2 separate regions of the Homo sapiens genome follow, and region 1 is linked to region 2. The links are contacts of gene promoters, found by promoter capture Hi-C in human tissues and cell types (Jung and others, 2019). All regions are on one chromosome and are shown on one strand. The core of a region is centred on a gene start or on the middle of the fragment in contact, and the rest is flanking DNA. Distances in the headings are between cores, read along the strand shown.

Region 1 (3,105 bases), core at 499-2,998, 290 kb after region 2:
TTTTACACCCCACCTGGAGTGCATTGGCCCCATCATGGCTCACTGAAGTCTTGAACTCCTGGGCTCAAGCAGTTCACTCGCTTCAGCCTCCAAGGTAGTTTGGAATATGGGAGTGCACCACCACAACCAGCTTTTACAGATTCTAAAACAGTAATAAGGAATTTTATGAATAATCTTCCAATACATTTCACAGTTGCCAGTTTGAAAATAAACACATAAAATTGAACAAATAAGTTAGACAACATAAATATTAATGGAGAAAATCCCATAGAATCTGTGAAAAAAATCTGGAATAAATGAATTTATAAAATTTACAGGGTAAATAATAATTTTTTAAAAAAATTATACTTCTGTATACAATGATCAATTTGAAACTGAAATTTAAAAGCACTTTTTACAAGAGCATACAACATATACTTGAGACACATAAGATGTGCAAGATATGTACATTGAAAACTACAAAAGATTGCTGAGGAAAATTAAAGATCTAAATAAAAGGAGAGATACACAATGTTTATGGATTAGAACACTCAATATTGTTAATGTGCTAATTCTTCTCAAATTGATAAACATATATTCAATGCAATCCAATCAAAATCCCACGATGCTTTTATTAGAAAATAACAAGTGAATTCTAAAATTGATATGAAAATACAAAGCACTTAGAATAGCAAAAAAAAAAGAAAAAGATGCATAAAGTTAAACGATTACATTGCCTGATTTAAAGACATATTATAAAGTTAATTAAGACTTTAAAATGTTAGCAAAAATATAGATTAAGAAAGTCCAGAAATAGACCAACACTTAGAAGATCAAATGATGTTTTAGAAAGGTGCAAAGGCAATTCACTGAAGATCGTGTTTTCAACAAGTGTTGTTGGAACAACTGGACATCCATATTAAAACAAAAACCAGGCCAGCTGCAGTAGCTCAGCCCTTAATCCCAGCACTTTGGGAGGCCAAGGTGGGTGTATCATGAGGTCAGGAGTTCAAGACCAGCCTGGCCAAAATGTTAAAACCCCATCTCTACTAAAAATACAAAACTTAGCCAGGGGTGGTGCCTGTAATCCCAGCTACTTGGGAGGCTGAGGCAGAGAACTGCTTGAACCCGGGAGGCGGAGGTTGAAGTGAGCCAAGATTGCACCACTGCACTCCAGCCTGGGTGACAGAGAAAGACTCCATCTCAAAACAAACAAACCAGCCACAAAGTTCTGATCCCAAACCTCACACGGTATACAATATTCAAGAACTAACTCAGCATGGATTATAAACCTGAATATATGAAACCTTCATTAAGTAACATGAGAGAATTTTTAAAATCTTGGCAAATACTTCTGAAATATACACCAAAAACATGTTCAATCAAAGAAAAAAATAACACATTCAACTTTGTCAACAGTAAACATTTCTGCTATGCGACATGCTCTTTTAAGATGAAGGAAGAAAAGAGCCATAGGCTAGAAGACTATACTGGCAAACCACATATCTGAAGAAGGACTTGTATTCATTATTTATTAAGAACTCTCAAAACTCAATAATAAAGAAAAAAGTTTAAATGGGCAAAAGATTTGAATAGACACCTAACCAAAGAAGATAGAGGGATGGCAGTAGTACACATAAAAATTGTAAACATTAGTTATTAGGGAGATACAAAGTAAAATCGCAGAGAAATACCACTGCACACCAAACGGGAATAGTGAAAATTAAAGACTGACCATACCAAGTGTTGGTGAGGATATGGAGTACCTGAAATCCTCATAACACTGTGGTAAGAATGTAGTAGTATAACCACTTTGGAACACAGTTAGTCAGTTTGTGAAAAGGTAAACATCCACTTACTCTGCGACTTGGTGTAATTATGCTTTTTATTTTCTGTATTTTATGATGACATCTTTTAAAGTTTGCTGGCTCTGGAGACTGTCCTCCCAGGATTAGTCTTTTCTTAGAGATGGCAAAACGCTCGACCTGGAGCACCTGTCTCATATACAACCAACTGGCACTGAATCTATAGCCCCGATTACCTCTTTATCCAACTCTCACACCCCACGCCAATATCTCCCCTGCACTGAAGCACCCCATGACCAGGTACCAGGTAACCAGAGACCAACACTATAGGCCAAAGCCTGCCGGGATTATTCAAACTAGCTAATCATAAGCTGTTTACTCTGCCCTGCCTGGCTTTTCCCATGGGAACCCCAATAAAGGCTGTGGCCTATGGGTTCCCCTTGCTCCTGCCTCCTGACCAGCACTGGTGCTCTCCATGTGGCCCTGTGTGGCATGGTGTGCCCCGGGAAATGTAAATAATAATGTTTTCCATCGCATTGGCCTCTCTGTGTGGTCACTCAGTCACTGCCATAAATTAGAATCCCACAGGTGGAAATGAGACACACCTCTTCGTGTGTGTGTGTGTGTAAGTGGGGGCAGGGCAGGTCTGCAGAGAGACCCACGGCCCTGGGCCATGCCTTTGGGGTGACAGTGTATCAGGAACTAAGCTCAGCATGCAGTGGGATGGGTTGGGTGTTGCTGTGACATCCTGTGTCCTCCCTGGAGCACCGTGGGATTGGGAGCAGGCTGAGCACTATGGTGCCAGCCTGCAGGTCCATGTGTGCATGTGCACCCAGGAGGCCCTGAGGCATAACGGTGTGTCTTGGCAAACATGTGTCTGCACTTGGCACGCCCTAGCACAGAATCTGCCACCGAGTGCCGGTTCAACAAACATTTGATAAATGAGTTTGTTTGTCTGAATGGGTAGCAGATTAGGTGCAGCTTTCGTGAAAATTAGTAAATTGTAATTTAGATTCAAGGAACATTACCTGGAATAAAACACAGAACCTAAAGGAAGTGAGATATAGAAAGTGCATTAGGAACACATGTTACACAGTGAAGAGATGCTACTGTGTCTGGAATTGGTGGGTTCTTGGTCTCACTGACTTCAAGAATGAAGTCGCGGACCCTCGCAGTGAGTGTTACAGTTCTTAAGGCGGCGCGTCTGGAGTTGTTAGTTCCTCCTGGTGGGTTCGTGGTCTCGCTGGCTTCAGGAGTGAAGCTGCAGACTTTCATGGTGAGTGTTACAGCTCATAAAGGCAGTGTGGACCCAAAGAGTGAG
Region 2 (3,102 bases), core at 470-2,969:
CCGAGCCATAAAACCAGCAAGTTTTTATTGGCAATTTTCAAAGGGGAGGGAGTGTACGAATAGGGTGTGGGTCACAGAGATCACATGCTTTAAGGGCAACAAAAGATCACAAGGCAGAAGGTCAGGGCGAGATCACAAGGTCAGGGCAAAACTAGAATCACTCATGAGCTTCCATGTCCTGCTGTGCACGCATTGTCATTTATAAACATCTTAACAGGGTTCAAGAGCAGAGAACTGGTCTGACTAGAGTTCGCCAGGCTGGAATTTCCTAATCCTAGCAAGCCTGGGGGCGCTGCAGGAGACTAGGGTGTGTTTCATCCCTATCTACATGTGCATAAGGCAGACACTCCCAGGGCAGCCATTTTAGAGGCACTGCCCTGGGAATGCATTATTTTCCCAGGGCTGTTAATTATTAATATTCCTTACTGGGGAAAGAATTCAGCGATATTTCTCTTACCCGTTTTTGGTAATAGGAGAAATATGGCTCTGTCCTGCCCGTCCCACAGGCAGCCAGACTTTAAGGTTATCTCCCTTGTTCCCTGAAAATCGCTGTTATCCTGTTCTTAAGGTGCCCAGATTTCATATTGTTCAAACACACATGCCCTACAAACAATCTGTGCAGTTAACGCAATCATCACAGGGTCCTGAGATGACATACATCCTCAGCTTACGAAGATGACAGGATTAAGAGATTAAAGTAAAGTCAGGCATAGGAAATCACAAGAGTATTGATTGGGGAAGCGATACATGTCCATGAAATCTTCACAATTTATGTTCAGAGATTGCAGTAAAGACAGGCATAAGAAATTATAAAAGTATTAATTTGGGGAACTAATAAATGTCCATGAAATCTTCACAATTAATGTTCTTCTGTCACGGCTTCAGCAGGTCCCTCCGTTCGGGGTCCCTGACTTCCTGCAACAATGTAGTGTTATTTTTCCCATTTTATTTACTGGATTTCAATGAGAGTCCCTGCTGTAAAGTTGGAGCCAGCATTGGAGTCCCCAGAGGGCTTGTTAAAACAGAGAAGGAGGCCTGGCACCATGGCTCACTCCTGCAATTCCCAACACTTTGGGAGGCCGAGGTGAGAGGATCACTTGAGCTCAGGAGTTTGAGACCAGCCTAGGCATCACAGGGAGATCCAGTCTCTACAAAAAATTTTAAAATTAGCTGTGTATGATGGTGCACGCCTGTATCCCATCTACCTGGTAGGCTGAGGCAGGAGGATAGCTTGAGCCCGAGATGGAGGCTGCAGTGAGCTATGATCAGGCCACTGCACTCCAGCCTGGACAACAGAACGAGACCCATCCCCCCCGCCCCCCCCGCAAAAAGTAGAGAAGGCTGAATCCCATCCCCAGAATTTCTGAGTCCTTAGATTTAAGTTGTTGCCCCAGAACCTGCATTTTCAGCCAGTCCCCAGGTGATGCTGATGTTGCTGGTTTGAGAAGCCCTGAATCAGAGCGACATTTAATATTACAACGCAAAGACCCCGCCCATTGGGTACTATCCCCATTTTCCAGTGTGAATTTAGGTCCCTTAGGGGTGAAGCGGCTGGCCGATGCCCACACGCGCAGGAAGAGCACTGGGGCTCTCCTCCTGGACCTCGGAGGGTGGGCGGGGTTTAGCGCGGGCGGCTGCAGGCTCGGGAGCGGCCCCTTTAAGGGGAAGGCCCGAGGGCTGCAGGCGGCGGCGGTGGAGACCCGACGAGATCCGCTCTCCTTCCCGCCCTGGACCCTCAGCCTGACGAGAGGCTGGGCAGAAACTCGCGATCCCCAGGCCCTGCCTGTGCACCAGCGGCTGGCGCCAGGCCAATGACAGTACGGGAGAGGGCAACTCTCCCGGCCGCCACGGTGGGGGCCGGAACTTCCTGCACTGCAGCCTCGCAGGTCATTTCCCGGCGGGGAGGCTGAGTCCCCAGGAGCTGGGGACCCCGAGTTGGGGGCGGGGCGGCTGGGGCTACGCCCGTGAAGCTGCCCCGCCGGCTTTCCCGGACCGCGAGGGGGACAGTGAGGCCGGGACCCCCTCCGCGCCTTTGCACCAGCCGTGACCCCTTGCAACGGGGGTACCCAGCGGAGCTGCGCGCTCTCGGCGCCCCCGGAGCCTGCGCCCCGGGCCCCTTGCGCATTTTGCACGGGGGAGACTGAGGCTAGGAGTGCGACCCTCAGCCCGGGGTCACACCTCGTCTGGGGCACGGCCAGGTGGGTGGTAGCCTCAGCCTGCGAGACCCCCTACCCCCGCCCCGTGGTTTCCCGCACCGTGGGGCCCTGCTCTGACCACAGACTCCGATGGCAGCGGCGGCGCTGCGGGACCCCGCGCAGGTGAGTGCTTGGACGTTAGGCCCTTCGCTGTCGGCCCCCCACGCTTCTGTTCTCGGTGTTGAGACGCAAAAGATGGCTTTGTTCTAGGACTTTTCGCCTTTCCCATTTCCTTGCTTTTGAGTCAGGGGACCCTGGAAGGGAGTTGCTCCCAGCTAGGATCCTGAATCAGGGCAGGGTTTATATAAAGTGGCTTCCGTTGCTGAAATGTAATGGGATGGAGGGAGAAAGGGCTTTGTAGGCACAGGAACCAGCGTGCGCAAAAGCTTGGGGGTGGGGTGGGGCACGGTGTGGAGACTGAGTTGGGAGTGTTCAAGGAACCCCACCCAGGTCAGTGTTATTAATATTATGTCTGCTGGAACCAGAGAGCAGGTGGGCTGAAGACAGCTCAGAACGGCAGAGCTGGGCCTCTGTTCTGAGGGTGTTGGGAGCCATGGAAGGTTTAGGGCAGAGGAGGAAGATGCTGTGACTCAGGTCTTAACAGGCTCCCTGTGGATGCACAGTGGAGAACTGAATATGGAGTGAGCCGCAAGCAGGGATGCCAAGGAGTAGCCTAATGGAATAGCCCAGGCCAGTGCTGCGGCTGGCCGGACCAGAGTGAGGACTGGAGGTAGAGGAAGTGATTGGGAACTTGATGTCTTTTAAGTCAAGCTGACCAAATTTTCCGATGTGGAGGGTGAGAAAGAGGAGGGAAGAATCCATGGTTTTTGGTTTGATGAATCCAGCTTTATGAACTGAGAAGTTGGTTTTAGGAGGAATTTTCCATGGAAGCAGTAGAAGTTAGGTT

What was found. The method cuts DNA at HindIII sites, captures the fragments that hold promoters and counts their contacts. A contact is called where the count stands out against the background at its distance.
Region 1: a contact is called between a fragment that was not itself captured here and the fragment with the promoter of ZNF792 in region 2, in 1 of the 25 tissues and cell types used here (liver).

What each region holds. Positions count from the first base shown.
Region 1 is chr19:34,669,021-34,672,125 of GRCh38, reverse strand. All of the region lies in intron 1 of SCGB2B2 (secretoglobin family 2B member 2), which reads left to right. It also overlaps the pseudogene ZNF807P and the pseudogene SCGB1B2P. Among named protein-coding and RNA genes, the nearest start is that of SCGB2B2, 6.6 kb to the left of the region's middle. The HindIII fragment of the contact is 6,284 bases long and covers 1-3,105 here.
Region 2 is chr19:34,962,846-34,965,947 of GRCh38, reverse strand. ZNF792 (zinc finger protein 792) reads left to right here and starts at 1,719. Exons shown (of 4, transcript NM_175872.5): 1 at 1,719-2,318. The coding sequence starts at 2,286. It overlaps LOC124904699 (a long non-coding RNA gene), which reads right to left and starts at 2,522. Exons shown (of 2, transcript XR_007067236.1): 1 at 2,275-2,522. RefSeq lists silencers at 1,958-2,217, 2,328-2,377. The HindIII fragment of the contact is 10,198 bases long and covers 1-3,102 here.